Linked DNA regions of Homo sapiens: region 1 is linked to region 2. Evidence: promoter capture Hi-C in 16 types of primary human blood cells and fetal thymus (Javierre and others, 2016). All regions are on one chromosome and are shown on one strand. Each heading gives the region's core, a stretch centred on a gene start or on the middle of the fragment in contact. The rest is flanking DNA. Distances are from core to core; before and after follow the strand shown. Region 1 overlaps LDB1 (LIM domain binding 1). Region 2 holds the start of PSD (pleckstrin and Sec7 domain containing).

What was found. The method cuts DNA at HindIII sites, captures the fragments that hold promoters and counts their contacts. A CHiCAGO score of 5 or more calls a contact.
Region 1: a contact is called between a fragment that was not itself captured here and the fragment with the promoter of PSD in region 2, in 1 of 17 cell types (non-activated CD4 T cells). The highest score is 5.6, in non-activated CD4 T cells.

The regions. Positions count from the first base shown.
Region 1 is chr10:102,111,068-102,115,950 of GRCh38, forward strand. LDB1 (LIM domain binding 1) reads right to left here. Exons shown (of 11, transcript NM_001113407.3): 2 at 367-469; 3 at 189-233; 4 at 2-77. Among named protein-coding and RNA genes, the nearest start is that of LDB1, 6.9 kb to the right of the region's middle. RefSeq lists an enhancer at 1-391 and silencers at 3,287-3,376, 3,427-3,576, 3,597-3,746, 3,857-4,066. The HindIII fragment of the contact is 8,794 bases long and covers 1-4,883 here.
Region 2 is chr10:102,416,681-102,421,116 of GRCh38, forward strand. It overlaps PSD (pleckstrin and Sec7 domain containing), which reads right to left and starts at 2,105. Exons shown (of 17, transcript NM_002779.5): 1 at 2,021-2,105; 2 at 1-441. The coding sequence starts at 358. It overlaps FBXL15 (F-box and leucine rich repeat protein 15), which reads left to right and starts at 4,156. Exons shown (of 4, transcript NM_024326.4): 1 at 4,156-4,436. RefSeq lists an enhancer at 4,074-4,436. The HindIII fragment of the contact is 10,611 bases long and covers 1-4,312 here.

The DNA of each region.
Region 1 (4,883 bases), core at 2,322-4,821, 300 kb before region 2:
CCTCTGTCCAGTTCTGAAGCCGTTTGTTAAGCTCAAATATTCTGTAGTCAGTTTGGTTGCCATATGGTGTGTGCCTCCTGGAGGAAGTGAAGGAGAGAGGTCAGTAGGAGCGGAGCCTGCCCCCTCCACCCCCTACCTCGGCCTTCACCCAGTGGAAAGCACCTTCTTCCCCACTGGACTCCACTTACCCAATCCCTGGCTCCAGGTATGTAGGCGGATACATGGGAGTTGGGCTGTGTAAAGGAAGAGGCTATGAGAATGGGGGTTGAAGATAGGAATTATTGGGGGCAGGGGGCTACTCCCTCCCCTTTCCAGGCAGGATCCCACCTGGAGAAGGGTTAGGAAGTGGCCAAGAGACTCACTTACCCCACATCCCTATCCAGCATGGTGCCGGGATGGAAGGGGGGAAAGGCGTTGCCGTTCGGGGGCTCCTTCGGCGAGTACAGCTTGAATGACTTTGAGGAACAACCTAGACGAGAAAGAAAGGAGTCATAGCTGGGCGCGGTGGCTCACATCTGTAATCTAGCACTTTGGGAGTCCAAGGCAAGAAGATTGATTGAGCACAGGAGGTCGAGGCTGCAGGGACCAGCCTAGGCAACATAGCGAGACCTCGTCTCTAAAAATAATTGAAAAGTTGGCCGGGTGTGGTGGTGCATGCCTGTGGTTCCAGCTACTTGGGAGGCTGAGGCAGGAGGATCACTTGAGCCTGGGAGGTCAACACTGAAGTGAGCGGAGATCATACCACTGCACTCCAGCCTGGACAACAGAGTGAGACCCTGTCTCAAAAAGAAAAAGGAGTCCCCTGACCCCCTCTTGGGAGCTGTCCGATAATCCTGCTAGACTGTGTGGATAGGGACGGTCTTATGGAGCTCCCTGGCCTGATTATAAGAGAGTGGTGGACTAGGGGAGGGGGCTACTCTAGGGAGCACCTGTCTCTCCTTCTAATTCTGGCTCCAATCTTATTTCATTAAGAAACAAGAGTAGTCCACCCTAATCCCAGCGCATACCCAAGATCCCATTTCTTCATTTGGCTGAGTCCTAGATGACAGAAGAGGAATTGAAGCTGGGAAGAATGATTACAGAATAAATAAATATCCAATCATTAGAATCTAATATTGATAAACCCCCTTTTAATCTACATACTTTCACTCAATCATCAAAACAACCTTATGAGGTAGCAGGGCTGACCATAACATTCCCATTTTACAGATGAGGCAACTGAGGGCTCAAAGGACCTTGCCAAGATCATAAAGCTAGTAACTGTCAAAGCTAGGACTTGAGCTTGGATCTTCTGATTCCCACATCCTATACTCTTTCTACCATCTGACCCCTCTATTGCCCTCTAGAGACCAAAGTGGGGGAGGAAAAGGGAGGATTTTCAAACTCTGCCCTTCCTCCACCCTCAGGGTCTCAGGAGGGCAAGGGATGGAAAGATAAATGGGGGTGGGTGCCTGTTGGGTGTGGCCTACCAGATAACCAGTTGGGCCTTCTGCCTCCCCACTAACGGCCACTCCCTTATCAGCCCAGCCCCCACCCCCGCCCCCAAGGGTAGACAGTATTGTCTCCAAACCAGAAACCCAAAGCCTCAACCCCTTTTCTCTTCTGAGACTTGGGAGTCGGGGAAGCAGGCAGATGAGCCTCCTTTGCATCCCACTCTACCTACAATTGAGAAGTAGGTGGTCTGGGAAGAAGCCTATGTTCCTCAGTCTAGGGGCAAGTGGTCACTAGACAGGGGTCTCACTAGTGTGTATCTGTGATGTGCACATGTCCTCTCTCTCACCTCACCTAACAGCAAACAGTTCCTGGAATACTGTTTTCTGACTGGAAAAAGTGTTAAATTCATAGTTGGGTATGAGCCAGGTACCCCTGCAACTCTGTTTCCCCTTCTCACCAGATAGGAGGGGAAACTGAGGCACAGGCCCAAAAGTTCATCTGACTCCAATCACATTTGCTTCCTTGGGTCCCTAAAACTCGACTGCATTTGGAAGGGTAGCTAGATTGGCTGTATCTAGATCTCCTCCCCAACTTAGATACAAAACCTATTTTGTTTCTTTGGGGGGAAGAGACAAAAGAAGACCCTGTGCCAACATGTGTCATTTAATTCTCTCCCCAGAGCCCTGTCCTCACAATGCAGGCAAAAGGAGGGTCCCAGACTGCACAGTCTCTGAAGATGCCAAGTCAGAGCCTGTGTGTGCCTGCACACACGTGTGCCTCATCCTGCCTAGCAGGCTTTCACCCTCAGCTCGCCCTAACATGCCTATCAAGGGCTGGAACCCAGCAGCCCCAGGCAGATTCAGATGCCCGCAACAGGCCCTCACCCCATGCACGAGCTCTCACGGGCCACATCCATATGCTCCAAGAACAGCACACACAGCCTTCACATGCCAGTCTGGACTGAGCCTGTGTCTCCAGAAAGACAGTCCCCACCCAGCCACCAAGTCTCCCCAATCCACAGACAGGCAGACTAAGGCCACACAGGAAGCCCAAACTCACACAGCCCACCAGAGGCCAGGCCTGGGCAATAAACCCAAGAGTAGATTCTCAGACCTGGCCCTCATCCCCCAACTAGGCCATCCTTTCTCCCATAGCTTAACCACCCCTGCCTCCTCAGTTTCCGGGCCACTTGAAATGTGTTAGCTCAAGAACCTGAAGAGACAGGAGGCAGGACGCCTGGGTTTCTCTCCAATTTTGTAAAAAAAAAAAAAAAAAAACTCTCAGAGCCTCCATTTCTCTCTCTAGAGAATGAACAGGCATTGTCTAGGCCTGGGTAAATAGCTCTGAGGAGCTAGAGCCCAAAGCTCTGGGCCTCTATTTACACCTCCAGTGAATGGACACAAACTCAGCATCTCTCCAGAGCCACAACTCCCAGTGGCTCCAGCACAAGGGCTTGGGAGTGAGTAGAGAAGGGGAGGGACATCACCCAGACCATCTGTCCCTGTTGCTGCCTGTCCCCAGCAGCAGGAGTAGAGGCAGCAAGGTGGGGGGACGGAGGAGATGTGTCATCCAGCCCTGGAGTCAGCCATAGCCCCCCTCCCACCTCTAGCAAATTGGAAGCCTTTAGGAAGGGGGAGAGAAGAGCCCAGAACTAGTAAAGTTTTCTCAGGGTGGAAGCTGCATCCCGGGGCTGAGGGGGGCACCTCCAGCTGGGTATTGCCATGGTAACCAGGCTGACTCGAGGGCAGGCCTCCTCCCTTTAGGGACTGGCCACAGGTCAGCAGGCCTGAGCGCCCCGGCGGCTCTGGGCTGGGGCACCTCTCCCCCAGCCCGCAGATCAGGCCCGGGCCGGGCTGAGGGCCTTCCGCCCACCCCCAACAGGCTCGCAGGGTGCCCAGACTTACCTGGGAGAACTGAGGGGGCCAGGAGAGGTACGGGGGAGCGACTGCAAGCCCAGAGGAGTCCTGGCAGGGGTGAGGGCTGACGGGGGGACAACTTCAGCAGCTCATGTCCCGAGTGGGACGGGCAGGCCCGACTGGGAGCTCCAGTCCGCCGGCCGCACAAAGACTCGCACGCACTGCCTCGGCCCGCCCCGCGGCGGCCGCTGTCCCGGGGGAAAGTTACAATGGCCACTGGGCCGGGGGCCGGGGGCCAGGGGGCCGGCCTGGGGGGCGGGGGGCCGCGGGGAGTCCGGAGCCTTCTTTGTTTGCAAGGTTTCCCTCAACAATGGCTGCTCCGCTCTTTCCTCTCTCCTCCTCCTCCTTCTCGGCTCTCCCCGCCGCCGCCTCTTGCTGCCTCTGCCTCCGAGCAGCCCGCCCGCCCTCCCCAGGCCACCGGGCCCCTCTGCTGGGGGCACCAGGAGAGGCAGGACCCGGCACTCACACTCACTCACACTCGCACACTCAAACACACACGCAGCGCCCGCCGGCTGCCTGCCTTTCTCCCTTTCTCTCCCTGCCTCCCTCCCTCCCCGCTCGCTCTCTCCGAGCCTCTCTCAGAATGAGGCCCCAGGGCGGGCGGAGGGTGGAGCTGCCCCCACCGGCCCCGCCCCCTCCCTGAGAGGAAAGAGGAAGAGCAAGGGAGGGAGGGAGGCTGGGACGGAGGGACTGCTGAGAAAAACAAAAGAGAGACAGAGACTGGGAGAGACAGGGGACGGATCAGATTGGGCCAGGAGAGACCTGGATGGAGGAGAGGCCTGTGGGGGCCAGGAACGAAATGCAGCCCGCCTCCCCCGAGCCCCAGGCACGGTGCTCAGGAGTGAGCAGGTGGGCCAAAGCCACTGGCAGAGATGGAGGAGGGCGGGCTCCTCTCTGCAGACTCCAAGATCTTCAAAGCACCTCCCAAACCTCCCCCAAATCTTTCTCGCCCCTGTGATCGCTCAGGTTGAAGGCTGGCCCGGACTGCCAGCCTGGGCTCCCCTGGTGAAATCCTGGAGCAGCTGGGGGGAGAGGCTCCAGGGGGTTATTTTTGACAGACACACATTCTGACATCAGACTGTAAACACTGATTGGAGGAAGGGGGACACTCCAGGCTTCCCTGCCCCCAACCCAGCTAAATTCCAAGCCTTGACTTAGATCCCCCTTAACAGGAAGCCCCCTTCCCCACCACCACTGAAGACAAGTGGGTGCCAGGGAAAGAGGCATTGTCAGAGCTAGGGAAAGCCAACTTGGCCATCCAAGGGTCCCCAGAAGGAGCTTAGTTTGCTGCTGAATCCTCCCCACCACCCCAGAAAAAAAAACGTGTGGTTAGTGGATAGGACCTGTTCTCCCATCCAGCAGGGCATCCCAAGGGAGCAGATATTTCTATTTTTTTTCCTAAGGTAATTTTGTTGTAGCAGGAGGGAATATTTCTAAAACTTGGGTAGTGGGCCAGACCTTACTCGTGGACAAATAGGAAAAGGAAAATACATAGTACACACACACACACACAAACACACACACACACACGGG
Region 2 (4,436 bases), core at 855-3,354:
GAGCAGGTAGCCCATTCAGTGGCCTCACACTGGCCTTCTCCACAAAGCGGAAGATGACCACAGAGCTCTGGGCCCCGGGTGGGGGCTGCCCAGTGGGTGAAGAGGGTGCCCAGGGTGAGGGAGCAACACGGGGTGAGGGGGGGCCACGCAGAGGTGTACAGGGTGCTGTCACACGTCCCAGTTCCCGGCCTCGAGGACCTGGACCTGCCACTCGCCGTAGCAAGGAGCCTGTGCTGCCATACATGCTGGCTGGGGGGCTCTGGGGCACCGGGCCTTCGGGGAGCCAGCGGCGTGGGCATCGTGGTGGGGAGATGGCACAGTCGCCTTCCGAGCAGAAGCGCATGGCACCCTGGGCCATGCTGGGGCCGGGGGTCAGGCTGGGGGGGCAGGGATGGCGAGGCCAGGCGGGGAGTAAGGGGGCTGCATGCTCTTCAGACAGGCCTGTAAGAGAGGAAGGGGAGCATGGGGTGAACTGCCAAGGAGTTAGATGGATAGGACAGCAGAGATAGGGAAGGGAAAGTTGGCTAGGGCCTCTGAGTATCAGGGACCTAGCACACCCTGGTAATATGGGATCATTGATCCCACGCCTGGGGACTACTTCCATAGAGGCCTGACGAGAAAAGACTTATACACCCAGTGGGCCCCTGGCTCCTTTCCTTCTGCCTGAGGCCCTGAGCATCACCCTGGGAGGAGAGAGGAAGCAACTTCAAAGTTGAGTGAGCCCGGAGTTCTTATGGCACTTTGGAGCTACTTCTAGAATAGGGGAAGTTGGTACCCCACCCTCTGGAAAAGGGGTGTCAGCCAGCTGTCACCATCATACAGCCCTGTGACCCCTATAGTCTCTCTTATGGAGGCCCCTCACTCAGGGAAGGGAAACTCAGGCCTCCTGGAAGGAGAGGGAAGAGGAACAGGTGTTATATAGGGATGCTGAAGGGCTGAGAGGCACAGCATGGAAGTGGGGAGAAAAGCCTGAGCAGAGGCTCCTACCCCCAATATATACATACTGAGTGGGAAAGGGACATTCTTCTTTTTTTTTTTTTTTTTTGAGATGGAGTTTCGCCCCTGCTGCCCAGGCTGGAGTGGAATGGCGCTATCTCAGCTCACTGCAACCTCCGCCTCCCAAGTTCAAGTGATTCTCCTGCCTCAGACTCCTGAATAGCTTGGATTACAGGCGCTCAGCACTATGCCTGGCTAATTTTTGTATTTTTAGTAGAGATGGAGTTTCACCATGTTGTCCAGGCTAGTTTCAAACTCCTGACCTCAGGGGATCCACCCACTTTGGCCTCCCAAAGTGTTGGGATTACAGGCGTGAGCCACCGCACCCGGCCAGGGACATTCTTTTCTTCATACAGGTACAGACAGGCACCTACACACACACAAACACACACACACACACACACACACACACACGCACACACATACATAAGGACAAATATGTCAGTACACAGTTAAACACATTCATAGGCAACACCCTCTGGCACACACACAGACACACACACACACACACTGCTCAAAGACACACCCTCATGCACTCTCACAGTCATAACAAGTATGTGTGTAATGAAAAGGCACATGCTTGTTTTACACACACACCATCATCAAACAGGAACACACAAAGAGGTACCCAAATATATACACAAGCTGTCATTCTCCAGTGCACACAGAGGTCCAGGTGTATCAGACACTCACAGAGACCTACTGCTCACAGTCACATACACATACAGATGTACACATACAGATGTACACACTCAAGCAGGGACACACACCGTCCCCTCCCCCCCACCTACTGGGGTCTCTTGAGGGGAATCTGCACCCATATTCCTCTCCTCTCCCTCTCTCCCCAGGGGTAAGACAGATCCCGCCCAGGAGAGACCATAACCAGGTAAAGGGGCCTCTGGTGGCAATGCAGGGGAGGGGCAGAGGTCAGGAGTAGCAACCCTGCCAGGCAGGTTCCGGAAGCTCAACGGGGTCCCAGCGCATACCCGGTGCAGCCCCAACTCAATGCCACCTCAGTACTCACCGCTGCTCGCCCAGAGCTGAGACCGAGGAGAGACAGAGGAGAGGCTGGGCCCAGCTGAGCTGTGAAGGCAGCGCGGCTCCCGTTTGCTCCAGGCCCGCCCGCCTCTCAGTCCCTCCCCCTACCCCCTACGCGCCGCTCAGGCAACGCTAATCCCCCCCACCCCCCGCCCTCTCCCAGGGCCCAGAGCCCCGGAGGCTGCCAGCCCCCCTTGTCGCTAGGTCCCCGCTGGGCTCTCCCGCCAACCTAAGACCCGCCCCAGACAAGGAGGAGGGCGCATGGAACCCCTGGTTCTATTCCCCAGACCCTCACGTGCCCCACCCCACTTGTGTCCACGTCTCTCTCGCCCACCGCCCCTTGAGCCACACGTAAGGCCCGGCTGCACACGCGTGTCCCGCTCCAGACCCCACGCGTGTCCCTAGGAGGCTGCCACATGACCTGTTACATGCCACACGCGCTCCCGCCCCCACGAGCACGCGGCCGCGCCAAGCACACGGTATGGGTGTAGACTGGACCCGCCCCCTAAATCCAGGAGACCATCAACTATGGAAAGGAGATCTAGGGAACACCGTCTTGAACCCGCCAGGGGTTTTGAGTCTCGGACCCAGGAGATCCAACCCTGACCACCCTCCCAGGATGCAGCAGGGGGATGTTAAATCAGACTTCAGGAAGAACTTCCTTGCTGCCTGAGTTAGGTGTCGTCACGCCTGCCCAGGGGTAAGAGGTTAGACGGGATGAACTAGGGACCGGAAGACGTGGGGGACCGGCAACCCTTGTGCCCTTGGCCAGGGTAGAAGGGGGCCCTGCTATTTTAAGAAAGAGCCGCTGGAGTTACTATGGCAACTACTCTCTTTGGGAGGGCCAGGGCGGGCAGATGGTGACCTCGGAAGGAAGAAGGGGTCTGTTCGGGCAGTCAGGGGGCGCGAGGACGTGCGAGGCGGGGGCGCGCGGGGCTCACCGCGGGGAGGGGCGGCGCGGACTCCGCGTGGTGCTGAAGGGGACAGCGCCAGATTTGTCGCACTGCGCAGGCGCAGAGGCGCGAACAAAGAGGGGAGGGGGACGAGGCGCGCGGCCGGAGGTGGTGCGCGCTCACGTGGCTCTATCTTTGCAGGGGTCTGTCCTCCCAGCTACCCCCTCCCTAAGCAGGCTGAGGAAGAAGAGATAGCAAGCCCTCACCTAACTTGACCCCTTTCTTGTCTCTCCCCGCTGCTAGCTTCTCCCTTCTCGCTGCCTTGCGGGGTGGGGAAACGTGGAAGGAATTCTGGGAAAACCAGATGTCTGGGTTCTCTATTCCCGTCTGGCTTGATTCTGGACAAGGGGCTTCCTCTCCAGGGCCTCGGTTTCCCCATCTTTAAAATGGACTGATAGCATAGACCTGCCCACCTTTCAGAGGTGCCCGAAGCCTTGACGAGATAACAGATGAGAAGTGGTTTTCGTTGTGATGAGCCAGCTGAAGCGGTTGCACCGGAGCGCCAGACCGTCAGCGGTGCAGTGGCTCTCGCGTCCTTCACATCCCCCCACACCCATCCCGTGGATGATGGGGGAAGGCACTACTCCTGGGGTTCCCCGAAGCGGATCCTGGGACTGGGACCTGGGGACGCGGTGAGAGGCAGCCCTGAAGCTGAGTCCAGAGGTCTGGGGCGTCATTGTCCCAGGGCGGACCCAGCCCCAGACCCTACAACTAAACCCAAGGCCAGCCGAGAAGCACTACCACTGGCGGGCTGAGCTGAGCTCTCATTCTTCTTAGGACTCTGGACCTTTGGAGGAAATGAAAGGGACCCAGTTGGAAATATAGTCTTTCTTCGCGCCCCCTACATCTCTCTCCCCCGGCGGAAACGCGGCCCAAACTGTTACGAAGTGGAAGAGGCTGGATAGCTCTTCATAATTAATCAGGAATGGGAGGTTTGAGCAGGTTTACTTGATGAGGGAAACATTATAGCCTCGCCAATTCATTCATTATTTCAACAATTACTTATTGAACACCTGCTACGTGGCAGACAGTAAGAGCCTGGATAGTTTCTCCCCGTTTTTCAAAGTCGCTAAACGCGACCAGAGGGCAGAGGAGAGGCCGGTAACCTAAGAGTCCTGGCTCCGCCCCCTCCGCGTTTGGCCTTGCCTGCTCCTCCCACCACCACTTCGCTCAGAGGCGGCTACTGGCTCAAGAGGACGACAGAAGCCAGTCTCTGATGCCCACCGCATTCTCCAGCTTCAGGCCTCAAGCCCTGTAGCCGAGAAGGCGAGGCCTAATGTTACACCACCGGTCTGTTCCGCCTCCGTTTCGGGGTCCACCCGAAAAGCTTTCAGATCGGATCCTCGGTGAGACGGCACTCGATTAAATAGGTCTGTCTCTACAGGCCAAGGAGGCGGGTTTGGTGCGGCCACTCCAAGGCCAAAGCGAGAAAATCTTACTGCGCACGCG